2 separate regions of the Homo sapiens genome follow, and region 1 is linked to region 2. The links are contacts of gene promoters, found by promoter capture Hi-C in blood cells and fetal thymus (Javierre and others, 2016). All regions are on one chromosome and are shown on one strand. The core of a region is centred on a gene start or on the middle of the fragment in contact, and the rest is flanking DNA. Distances in the headings are between cores, read along the strand shown. Region 1 has its middle 370 kb from the start of MIR7852. Region 2 holds the start of PRMT6 (protein arginine methyltransferase 6).

What was found. Contacts are between HindIII fragments. The CHiCAGO score rates a contact against its expected background, and 5 or more counts as called.
Region 1: a contact is called between a fragment that was not itself captured here and the fragment with the promoter of PRMT6 in region 2, in 4 of 17 cell types (naive B cells, total B cells, fetal thymus and 1 more). The highest score is 8.9, in naive B cells.

The regions. Positions count from the first base shown.
Region 1 is chr1:107,526,982-107,533,263 of GRCh38, reverse strand. No RefSeq gene overlaps it. Among named protein-coding and RNA genes, the nearest start is that of MIR7852, 370 kb to the left of the region's middle. The HindIII fragment of the contact is 238 bases long and covers 4,152-4,389 here.
Region 2 is chr1:107,052,177-107,059,149 of GRCh38, reverse strand. PRMT6 (protein arginine methyltransferase 6) reads right to left here and starts at 2,476. Exons shown (of 1, transcript NM_018137.3): 1 at 1-2,476. The coding sequence starts at 2,434. The coding sequence ends at 1,307. RefSeq lists enhancers at 1,675-1,884, 1,895-2,024, 2,035-2,174, 2,195-2,244. The HindIII fragment of the contact is 2,330 bases long and covers 2,413-4,742 here.

The DNA.
Region 1 (6,282 bases), core at 3,021-5,520, 470 kb before region 2:
TTAGAAATTATAGAGAGGTTCTCTGATTGGCCAGTCTGATCAAGGTACCCAAGAATGGCTGGAAGCAGGGTTTCCCGAAGAATGGGATGATGAGGGCAGATAAAAGGGATGTTTCTTACAGGCCTCATGAGAAGCTGGGAAAGGTGTCCTTGCCTCTTATATCCACATGGCAGTTCTTAGTGATATAAAAGGACAAGCCAGCCAACATCCCTGATGAGCAGCTCTCCAGTCTCTTTCCTCTACCTGCTGGCTTAAAATTGTGATCCCTCTCCACCCTTAAGTCGGAGAAGGGCAGAGTGCCCCCCAGTCCTCCGCTCAGAAGCAATAAGAACAGAAAAACTGCAGGCCAAGTTGAGCCTCACTTTGAACATGGCAATGGCTGTTTAACAAATGCCACAGGGGCTTCTTGTGACAGGGACGAAAAGAGTGAGAGGGCCAGGGACGCTGCTGAGGGGTTCTGGGAAGCTCACCAGGGCCTTTCAGGAATTGAGGCTGCCTGACTGCCCGGAGCCTGGCCCTGAGAGTGGGCAGGTGTGCTGCCTGTATAATGCCCTTGATCTCTAAGAGAAACAGTGGCAAACCAATCAGATGGCAACCTCCTGCCAAGGACTCCATTAGCCCGCTCTGGTGGCTGCTTCTGAAGTGGCGGCTGCTGGCTCCACTCGCTCCCCTGTTCAGAGAGGACATATGGGCCAGGCAGTGATCAATGAGGGAACATCTGGCACAGGAGCAAATCAAACAGCACCGATGACTAATTTAGGAGTGTTGCCTTGCCATTGTTCTTTCTGTGGCCCCATGCAAAGGTCACCCAGTGTGGCAGGCTCAGAGAAGCTGCTGCTTCACCTTCAGCAGTCCCCAGGATCCAACTTGTTTGCCTTAAAAATGAATCGATAGCTTCTTCTTTGAGGGCTGAAACAGCAGCTCCCTATCACTGAATCCTGAATTCTCACGTGCATGGTCAGCCCCCTCCTTGCAAGCCCCTAGGCACCCCTGTTTCTTATTAGCCATTTATCATCTTGCCTCTGAAGTCTCTCTCTTAAAAAAAAAAAAAGAAAAAGAAAAGAAAAAAAAACACTCTACTGAATTCATGTTCTATTTCTGCAACTGAGATTTTTCTCCTTTGGGTTCAAATAAAAGAAATAGCAAATATTAAAGAGCATGAGAGAAAAAGGCACACATGCCTGGCCCATGAATAGACAAGATTGCCTGTAGTTCTGATTTTGGTGGTTTATATAATAGCTTCAAATGCTGGTGAAGACAGGTCTCAGCCTTGCCAGAAATGATCTCTAAATTAAACAGCCATTTTCTTTTAAATTACCTTTAATGGCACATTAGAACCACATAATTTTCAGCCTTGAAGGAGGATTTGGTAGGATATTGGGTGCTATTCGTTTCCTCTTTTTGGGTCAGGAGAGCGCATCAGACAGTTTATGTGTAAAAGTTCTCCATCGGAAATGATACACTTTTTCTTGAGAATTTATTCTCATGTATGAAAGGTGTGCTGTGGGATAAGCCATGTCTTCTGTGATTGACAGTTTGCGTCCTAGCTCACTGATAACACCCAGCTGGCTGTCATGGTGGCAAGGCCTCCTGCTTCTCCTTCTCATCTGGTATCACACACTCATGGGCCTGGGGATGCGCAGAGTCATGGGCTTGAAGGGGTGGTATCCTACTGCTGCCCAGTCACAATTACTCATCTCTCAGAAACACCTAGAAATAAACTGATCCTCTTCCTGGTGGACAGAACATGTTCTATTCCCCGTTCATTCAATTCCCAAGGGAAGTGAATGCTCAATTTCTCTGCTGTTTTATCCTGCAGTCATCCAGCTTCTAAGAGTGATTCTGGAGTCGTCTTGCTGGTTATCTCCATCGGATTTCTTCAGTACAACACTAGCCCCCTCCCACCCTTCATTAACATAGATTGGCATCCTTTATAAGACAAGCAGCCCAGGCAGCTGGGTGATCATTTGAGTGACAAGAGAAGTGGATTCTAGTCTAGCTTAGTCACAAACTCGCTATAGGCTCAGAGACAAGTTACAACCTCTCTGGGCTTCAGTAGCTACACCTTTTAAGGTACACGATGTTCTCTGGGGGAGGGATAGCATTAGGAGAAATACCTAATGTAAATGATGAGTTGATGGGTGCAGCAAACCAACACGGCACATGTATACCTATGTATCAAACCTGCACGTTGTACACATGTACCCTAGAACTTAAAGTATAATAATAATAAAAAGAACAGGTAAAAAAATAATAAAAAAAAGATACACGAATCTAGATCTTCTGATTTGGTAATAATCGAAGGGGGGTGGTGGGTAACAGATTCAGGGAAAAAGAGAAACGGGAAAACTATGCTTCGTCAACAAGGCAATAATGGTGAACCAATGTGTGTTTAGAGGCCCTATATGCTTGTGTTCAGAGTATTCCATTGTGTCTTTGCTATCCGAAGCTGCTCAGGGACATAGTCATGAATCAAGACTTCCAGTAAATGCCTCTGGAACGTGGAGGAATGAGAACCTGGCAGGAAGACAGTGCAGGGCATTGTCTGGAGCTCGTTCCTCTTGGTTGCGTGACTGCCCATTATGACTGTCTGATGATGGCAATGTGATCATTTGTCTAGCAATTACAAAGCATCTTCATTTTACTGCCTCTTTTAATGTTCCCAATAACCCTGTGAAGTAAATATTATTCTCCCTACTTTAGAGATGAAAACCCTGAGGTTTAGAAAGGTTAATGACTTGTTATATGATGCTCAGGTACTAAAGAGTAGAGTTGAGATACAAAGCTAAGACTTCTGATTTCACATATAATACAATTTCCATATTTTCAACAGTTGTCAGACTGTGCCCTCAAAGGTGTGGGTTTGGAGGATGTGTCTGGGGTGGTGGCGGGGGTGGGAGAGAAAAGCTAAACCAGTGGCGCTCAGACTCCCTGCTTCAATCAAAGCACCTTTATTGTTCTATTCTATATTTATATAATGCCACCCTAAATTTGGCTTTAAACAAAATGTTTCTAGTGCTAAAAAGTCAAGTTTATGAGACGCAAAATATACCATTGTGGTGTTGAAGATGAAACCTTTTTTCAGTCTCTTTACTCGGAGGATTCTGCGTTCTTTGTTCCAACAATCCCAGCTCGAAATCCTCTCTCTCTCTCTCTCTCAGAGGAGCTGACCACAGATGCTCTTACTTCTCTCAGTCCAGTGAGCCATATTCTGTTTTTTGTGGGCCTTTCACAGGAAAAGTGTTCTGTGGCCAAGGTAGTTGATAACAAGCCAGATGTTCAGCCCAGATAGAGACCCCATTCCTTTCCTTAGAAGAATTGACCCACATGTTCCAACTTGCCTCATAAATATAAAAAGAAAAGCCTAGCTTCCATTTTAATTAGATGAAATAATTACATGTCACACATCTCTTAAGCAGTTTTATACTCGCTCTGACTGTGATGCAGGGATTAGCATTCAAAGACGCTGCTTGCCCTGTGTACAGATGTTGGGTTTATAGACTGTCATGCTCCTTGTGGCCACAAGATGTCAGGCAAATATGGTCATGGGATATAGGTGCAGGAAGGTGCCTTGGCTCCTGAAAATACCATTGACGAGTTCATTAGCTGATTAAAATCCTTCCAATAAGCTTGTTGGAAGAACCTAGGGAAAGTCTATGAAATGTGTCATATTGTTATCCTGTTGATGGAGACGCTGAACACGACTAGGAGGTAATCAGATTAAGATCAACAAATATTGATTGTACATGCTTGCACGATTAAATCCTGAATAATTAAAGGCCACTGAGTTTCCTAGCTCTCATCTTAGTGTGTGTTTCCATAAGCAACATGTGCTGTGTTTCCAAAGTACCATGAATAGACATGGCTATAGGAAAGAAATGGGATCAGTCAGAGAATCAATCACTTTTAAAAGTTTCAGTTTGAAAATCTGATGAAATAAAGAAGTGGGTTTTAAGTTAACAGCTATTCTATAATCATGAGACATTTTATAAACCAAAATATATAAAATAAAGCCATACACTGAAACTTGTGCATACTTCTAATGTAGATTTGTTTACTCCATGATTTGAATGATTTGTTAATTAACAGCTGATCTGACACACCACCCCTCACTATTCTTTTAGTCTCTGGACCGACTTTCTATAGAAGCTTCCTTGGGGTCTGGCAGAAGGAAGCAGTAATGACAAGCAAAGGTTGAGCTCAATCGATCTGTGGTTATTGAGTTCCTACAGAGAGCTGGGTGCTGCTGAGGCTGCAGCAGACCTAGAGGGCATGGCTTATGCCTCACTGTTTCTTCCCTTTCATTTATCTCTTTCTTCTAATTTTCTGTGTTCTACTTCTTAACTCTTCAGATGCTTCTTACTGCTAAGCTAGGTGAGGGGATAAGCTTTTATTTATTTACCTTTGAAAACATGCTGATCTCCTACTATGTGCTAGACTTTGGCCTGGAGATTCAGAGACAAATTTTAAAATGGTGCTTACCTTGCTCATGGATCCGGCAAGCCAAAAATCGTATTACAGCAGTATGGCACTGGCAATGCAATCAAGTAAATGTCCTATGGAGCGCACAGGCAAAGGGGGATTCATTCCGCTTGGTCCTGAGGGCATTGTGGTACTTCACAACAATGTAAATTGGAACTCATCAAGTGAACAGGGATGGGGCAGCCTGAAGAATTAGAATATGTGAAGGCAAGTCTGTTCCAGTAAAAGCTAAGCTGCTGTGAGAAAGAGATCTGCAGTACAGTAACTTGAAAAGATAGATGTCCATTTTCCTCTCATATAATAGTCTAAAGGTAGGCAGTCTGGTGGGGCTGCCCTACTCCATGAGGTCATTCAGGGACCATGGTCCTTCCAACTTGTTGCTCCACCATCCTCTAGGCATTTTTCACACTGCTGGAGCATCAGCTGGCTTGCCATTTCCAGCCGTGTGAAGAATAGGGAGAAGTGGTCCAGGGTAAGTTACTTTATTATAGTAAGGAAGGCAGAAATTGCACACTTCTTTATATTTCATTGACTTTGACATGACCACATCTAGCCTCAAGGGGGGCAGGGAAATATGCTTGTAATAAGGTGGTTCTGTACCCATGAAAAAAACAGGAAAAACAAGTTACGGGGGCAACTAGCATCTCGCCACAGCAGAGGCACGTGGAAGGGAATAGTCTGTTGTGGAACTTGCACGCAGTGGAGTGTAGCTGGATCATGGCTCATGTGACTGGTAAGGTGGGGCCAGGATGTGGAGGAGTTTGAATGCTACATTGCTAAAAAAAATTTTAATGAAGCCAGCATGCTGAGCTTTGTGTTTGAGGGTAAGTCACTCTAGCACCTGAGGGTTGAGGAAGCGTTTGGAATGATTAGACTGAAGGCTGTTGTCGTTTTAGGTCCAGGTGAAAGAAGGTGAAGGCTTCTCTCAGGAAAGGAGAGCCAAGGGTAATGGGGAAAGTAGATTTAAGAGACATTTAAGCCAGAACTAGAACTTAAACTGGCTGGTAAGTTTCTACAGGTCACCTCAATTAAAAACTGTTAATGAACCACACTGACAGTATTTTTATTATTAGCAAAGTCTCTTCAACAGAGAACAGGCTAAATGTTTCTTTGACCCCTGCCCTCAGCTTTTGTCAAATGTGCACATTCTAGAAATTAAGGGAGCACAGTGGGGTCTTTATGGTTTAACAAGTTGGGTCCATGTTCACTTCTCATATATTCTCAAGACAATCTTGTGGGTTCGGAACACAGAATAATATGTCAGTACATTAAGAGTGTCTCTGTCATTTGCCCCTCAGGGATTGGGACACAAACCAAGTTCACAGAGACTGATATATATTAGCTAGATCACCAATTTAGTCATCTGTAATTAGAAAAGCTACTGGCAGACAGACATATGTCAACTTGGCCTGCTCTCTGGGGGGCACTCTACATGGGAAGTCAAATTATCAGAAGATTGCTTGAGGGGTGTGGAACTGAACAAGGGGAATTATACATTTGAATATTAAATGGTGTTAAGCTTCGATAGCTTCATGCATTCATCTCCAAGGTGGGAACGTGGCTGTCAGGAACACTAACTTCTTTGTTTGGACTTACCAGGCATCTTGTCCTAGACAAATCTAAGAAGAAATTTCCAAACTTGGAAACTTCGGCATTTCCATCAGTATAACCACATACTAGGGGGTATTTATAATTAAGCACCACACATGGAGACTCTGATAAGCACCAAGACCCCCCTGCCCCAATGTGAAAACTGTTGGGAGTATGGTTTATTCTGGAGAGGAGCCAGAGGAGATCAAA
Region 2 (6,973 bases), core at 1,227-3,726:
CATAGTTTGAATTGTCCTGAAGTTATATTCTGAAGGGGCTGTAACACTTAAGAACTAATAATATTAAAAAGGCAAAAGCATTATAACTCACAGCACACAAGACTTTTTACCTCATCTATAAAACGTGAGAATGTCAATGTTTTATTGGCTACAAGGATAAGGAAGGAAACATCAGAGAAATAAATTTGATAACAAGATTCACACTTCATTACAAGTGATTTTCCTAAATTCACAACTTTCACATTTGGCTGAGTGAAAGAGAAAAACAAAACAAAACAAAACAAAACTGAAAAGGGAACTTTCACTACTTGTAAGTAGGCCAACTCACATGATCCCTCCAAATGAGAGAGTTTAAATGAGAATGAGTATACTTTTCTAGCTGGGAAAATATTTTCCTTAATTAAGTGAGTTTAAATAATTTACCCATGGTGATGAATAAGCCCTTGGGCTAGGCTCAGAAACCTCCTCTACCAGCCTGTTTCATAAGAATTACACAAATATTTTTATGGGACATACAAGAAATATTTTTTGGTTATAATAGTAGAGACAAGAATTTTTAAAAATCCATACTATTTCTTTCAGGTCTCTCTCTTAAATGCACCTTCTGAGTTTCTTAGGTATGCTGTACAATTACAAAGTCCATTTTACTTAACGGATTAATGTGTTCATCAACTTTAGCACCCTATGATGTATGTGGTCAGAGTAATGAGAACAGGGCTATTTAAACTGCTTCCTCATATCCTTCCCCTTAATTACCAGTAGTGAAGTTTACCTAGAAAACAATGAGGAAGAAGTACCATAGCCTACAGGCACCTAGGGAGGGGGAATTAATTCGGACTGAGAAAATATGGCTCTGGAGAGATACTAAAGTCGTACTGGAAATGTATGAAGTCTAAATGAACCCCTTTCTCCCCAGCTTCAGACTTAGATAAGGTGTGAGGTGTCAGGGATGTGCATGGACCCTTCAAAAACTGACATTTTCATCCGTGTTCTTCCCCCTCACTCCCCCGCGAAACAAAATATACGGAAATACAAGTGCTTGGTACTACATGCTTTTGAGGCTAAATGCCCAATAATAAGCACGCTGTATCCGTTGTTGAGGGGGATCACTTTTTAAGTAAACATCACCAGAAGAATCTCTTCAAATGGAGAATGAAGTCACTCTCCCTCCCTAGAGGCTATGAGGGAAAAGGGGGAGATATTCCCCCTACTTGCACGTGGGATCTCCCTTTCCCCTCCGACCTCGCTACGCCTCTCCCACGCAGGTCAGGCTGCTTTGGGAGGTAGCTGGGAGAAAAGGCAACGCTCAGTCCTCCATGGCAAAGTCTTTGGTCTTCTCCTCCTGGTCTCCCACTTTGTAGCGCAGCAGCACGCGCAGGCGACGGGGGTTGTCCCGGGAGGGCAGCAGCGTGATCTCTCCTGAAACGTCCGTGTCTTGCTCCACTTGCACCGGCTCGTTCAGGTAGAGGAGCGCCTGTTTCCAGTGAGTGGCCGGGTGAAAAGGCGAGGTGGACAGCACCAGGGGTTTCTCCGACTCCCCTCCAGGGAAGGTCACCTGGAACCAGATGGCAAAGCCATGCATGGGCGCCGAGCCATAGCAGCTGCAGCGGAAGCGCCCGCCCACTCCGGCCTCCAGCTCCTGCTCCAAGCCGGCGCGGGAGAGCTCTAGCTGAGCAAAGCGCTGCGGCCGGGCCAGCACGTCCTCGCCGGACAATCCCTGCACAACGATCTCCGAGTGGCCCATGAGACAGCGCGTGGCGAAGCCCTCCAGGCAGCTCATGTCCACACCATAGTGCTGCTTCACCTGGCTCCAGAAGCCCAGGCGCCATTCCAGCATCTGGTCGCTGATGGGGGCTATGAAGAGCTCGGCGGAGGCCGGCAGGAGAAGACCGCCCTCCTTCAGCCACTTGGTTCGCGCGTGGAGGACGGAGCTCAGCATGGACTCGTGCAGGAGTCCGTAGCCCATCCACTCGCTCACGATGGCATCCACCTGTTCCGGCAACTCTACAGTCTCCACTGGTCCCGGCAGGACGTGCACCCGGTCCTCCAGCCCGTTGAACCGCACCACCTCCCGGGCCTGTTGCCAGATGGCGCTGGCCTCTACCGCGTACACGCGCCGGGCCCCGGCCTGGGCACAGAAGATGCTCAGAATGCCGGTGCCCGCGCCCACGTCCAGTACCGTCTTGCCTCGCAGTGCTGCCCAGTTCCGAAGGATACCCAGGCGGTAGGCATCGGTGCGGACGCGGTCCGCGATCATCTCCTCGTGGACCGAAACGTCCGAGTAGCACTCGTAGTACAGCTGGTCCCGTTCCCGCTTAGTCCTCCGGGGTCGCTCCAGGGCCGCCTCCCGCTCCGCGCCATCTTCCTCTTCAGTTCCCTCCCCTCCTTCGCCGCCGCCCCCCGACTCAAGCTTTCTTTTCTTGGGCTGCGACATCTTGGCCGCTCTGCCCGGCTCCCGGCGGGCGTAGCGCGGCACGGCGCGGGCTCCAGGAAACGGGGGCTTCTGGGACTTGTAGTGCGCGCTCGTCCTTCCTACTTCCTGCGGGGTCGCCCGGCCGGCGGCGCGGAAGGTCTCCTGTGCCTGCTCACGGGAGCTGTTTTGTATTGCTCTTCTGGTGTCCTGGCATCCCTTTTCCCACCCACGACGCCCACATTCTGAGATCCTTTCATTCCCCCTCCCACCCTTAGCTCCTCAGTTTTTTGCTTTCACTCCCTTCCTGAAGTAGGCACGCACACTTAAGACTAATAATCCACCTTTGTTTCTTCTGCTGAACTCACCTCTGTTTTTTTTGTTTGTTTTTCTGTTTTTTGTTTTTTTTGAGAGGGAGTTTCGCTCTTGTTTCCCAGGCTGGAGTGCAATGGCGCGATCTCCGCTCACCGCAACCTCCGCCTCCTGGGTTCAAGCGATTCTCCTGCCTCAGCCTCCCGAGTTGCTGGGATTACGGGCGCATGCCACCAGGGCCGGCTAATTTTGTATTTTTGGTAGACGGGGTTTCTCCCTGTTGGTCAGGCTGGTCTCAAACTCGCGACCTCAGGTGATCCGCCCACCTCGGCCTCCCAAAGTGCTGGGATTACAAGCGTGAGCCACCGCGCCCGGCCTAACTCACCTCTGGTTTTATTCCACCGAATTAACATGGCAGCACCATCCACCCACTACCGCCTTAACTGGACAATTGTAGCTCTTAAAGTGCTCCAGCTGTGGCAATTTAGAAACTGCACTACGCATTTCTTTTTTCTGTTTTCAGTGCAGTTAGAGTGCAAATGTAACAAAATTAAAACCTAACAATGCAAAATCTTGGTTCTGATTCCAGTATGACCACTAATTAGTTGAGTGATTTAGGGCAAATAATAGAACTTCTCTGGCCTTTAGTTGCCCATTCACCCACCAGCGAATCTTCATTGCAGTTGGGGAAGAACTAGGTTTCTGGTTCTACTTAGAAGAATAGTTACTTGGCTTTCGGCTCTGCTCTGATAATTCTGTGGCTCTCTTAAGAGTTAAATCCTGAAAAGTGCAGACTCAAGAGCCATGTGATACAAGCAAACTCGTTGCTAGGTGTATTCTATATATATATGCGTTTTTTTCTCTCAGAAATAACGGAATCAATTTCTTTTAATCACTTTCTCAATGCAATTCATTTTTTCCTGTGTTTTCTTGTCCGGGCAATATTGACACTCTCCTCTTTCTCTTATATTTTTCTTGTAGTCAACCATCAGCTGTTACTCTCTTTTTGTTGTCCATAATGGAAATAAAATATGTTTTTAAATATGTGTGGCATCTGTATGGGTGTCCGTGTTATTAACAAGGTGGGCATAATGCCATTTTCTGCCAGCTTGAAAAAAAAGTCACTCAGAGTAAAATGGATTTTTATTTTCTTGTGGTCTTGAATTATGTCCTTGTAACCAATAGGCCTGTATTCCTTGTCTGGGATCAAAGTTCTTTCATCCTATTTTCTCTATTAATCTTTCATTAGCAGAATAGGTTTATTGATATGGCATCCTTAGCTGTACTCTACTTCTAACTCAAGACTCTCCATCCTGGCTGCTTATTAGAATTCTCTAAGGAGCTTTTTAAAAAATACCGATGCCTGGGTCTACCTCAGACCAATTAAATCGGAATCACTCCAGTGGAACCTGGGCTTCTAGTTTTTAAAAGCTCCCCAGGGAATTCTAATGGGCAGCCAGGGTGAGAACAACTGTTTCTCACTAAAATGATCTTAGTTAAATCTTGCTTCGTTATTTTAATTGGGTAAATTGTATTTTTTTCAGTGGCCTGGGCTCAACCATTTAAGGCTAAAAACCTTGAAGTATTTCTTCTCTTTTTCTGCCTTGGTTTAATATCTTATTTTAAGATAATTGAGGCCCAGTGTAGGACATCAGATTAGAGTTGTAAATGTGACCACTTTAATATGTTACTTTTATTAATAGGTTGTTACTTAGTGTATACTTTTGCCATTCTTTCTTTCCTCAAAATGTCACCTTTTCCTTTTAAATACATTCATTCCTTCACCCAATTTTCAATTCACTTCCTTATGGTCTCTTTTAAGAAAATTCTGAATATAAGTTTCACTGGTTCTACCTCCAAAATATATCTTGAATCCATCTGCTTTTCTCCATTTCTATTGTCAACACCCTAGTCTAATCTTCCATATTGACTTGCCTGAAAATTAGTCTCCTAAGGGATCGCTCAGCTTCTAATCTCAACCCTATCTAATCCCTTCTCTACATAGCTGAAAGAATAAGCTTTTATAAAACCCATTGGGCCATGTCATTCTTCAGTAACTTCCCGTGTTAGTTAATGGAACAATTCAGTAACTTCAGGTAACTTCCCATCTCATCTCATACCATTTTTCCCAACTCTTCATTGGGCTCAAGATATACTGGTTTCTAATAACACATTTCTTTCCTGTGTCAGGTCGTCATGCATACTCTTCTGGTGCTGAGAAAATTGTTTTTCTCCTTAGCACTTCACTTTAGTGGCTTCTCATCCTTCATGTCTCAACTTAAATGTTACCTCATGAAAAAGGCCTTTCCTGGCTTCCTTAAATAATATTTTCAAACCCAAGACACTATTTTGTTCCCTCCCAGCATTCATTATTATCTGTATGTATTTAATTAATTTATTTGTTTTCTATACAATATCAACTCCAGGAGACTTGGACTTTTGTATTCCCACTATTGCAGTCCTTAGCACTACAACAGAAGCTGGCACATAGAAAGTGCTCAATAAATAGTCTTGAACAAAGTCTATTGTGGATGTAGAGAGTTTTGCTTCATTAGTTCAATGTGACAATGTGACTTGGTAAACTCTGAGATAGATCCAGATATAGATAGAATGTGGAATGCTCCCAGAAATGAGAATAGTATAAATTTTAAATACTGTTAATGCTTCTAGATAGAATAGTGGTAAGCACCAAACATTATCCCTAGAGCAGATTAAAAAAGGTCTGTGGCACTTTCCTTTCCTGCCCTTTTATTTGATATAGAGAAGGAGTTCTTTACTGATCTTTTGTACCACAGTGAGATGTTTTAAGTAGGAAAGGGACCTAGATCATAGCCCTTCCCTAAGCCGTGCGGCTCAGCAGCAAACCACCTGCATGGGAGAAGAGTTGGAGTTCTGCTGGCAGAGCATTCTTAGTATTTTCATTTCAGCGATCTGCTTGCCACGTCTATTCAATGCTCAAACCCAGTTTTTCAAACAAATGATCTTGAAATTTTAATTTAGTGCAACTTGACCACCATTAAGAAGAAATAATAGATCAGAAAATACTAAATGTGTCAAATGAGTAAAGGTGGGTATTATTTCATAAAACTTGTTTCGTGGCTCACACCTGTAATCCTGGCACTTTGGGAGGCCGAGGCAGGCAGATCACGAGGTCAGAAGTTCGAGACCATCCTGGCCAACATGGTGAAACCCTGTCTCTACTAAAAATACAAAAATTAGCTGGGCATGGTGGCACGCGCCTGTAGTCCCAGCTACTCAGGAAGCTGAGGCAGGAGAATCGCTTGAACCCGGAAGGCAGACGTTGCAGTGAGCAGAGATTGTGCCACTGCACTCCAGCCTGGTGAAAGAGCGAGACTCCGTCTAAAAAAAGTACTGTATGTATATTTCTTGCTTCAGGTTATGGTTAAAAGTTTGAAATATACAGCTTACTGTTCTCCAAAAACACTATGAATTTTGGGACTTCTGTACTTTTGCTTTGCGTGCCTCTACTCTTCCCTCCTCTCACTCATCTTTTTAGCTAATGCTCAAATGATGTTTTTTCAGCCAGTCTATGGCCCTTTAATACATATAACTCTTTTTGCACTTGTATCATTGTATCAGAACTATTTATATATCTGGCTTTGGACTGTGGACATTTGAACACCAAGATTTTGTATTTTTCATTTTTATGCTGAGAACCTAGTGCATTGTGCTGGAATCTGGACCTTTCCATATTCCAGATTGTTGCTCCCAAGTATACTGAGGTTCACAGATGTGCTTTGGATGACTGGGAGAATCATGATCTCTTTTCTGTATCAAACACACTCATTTATTTGTTCAACCATTCATTTATTCAACAGGCATTCTGGACTTTTATCATTCTAGAAATAAGGAATAAAGTAAACAAAAAGCAAACATTCTTATCTCTGAGGAACTTATATTTTTGTGTTAATGTTATGTTATCTATTATTATTATGCTTTTTTACTAGCAATTTATTATACCACTTTTAAGTCTCAACTCTCATGTATTATTTTATCTTGGATGTGCTGATGTGATATTCTCCCACAAATATTTATTTCTAAATTTCTTTCCCTTTTTAATTCAAAGGTATATTATTTAAAAATATTTTTTAAAGCCTAGTGTAAGGATTGAAGATAGTTCTTTCAGGATTTCAAAAATTCACTGTAATTCTCAAAGTGTGTTGAGGAAGGGTAAAGGAGCAATGGCATGAAAAATGTTATAACTGTCTCTTTGATATGAATATTCGTTAA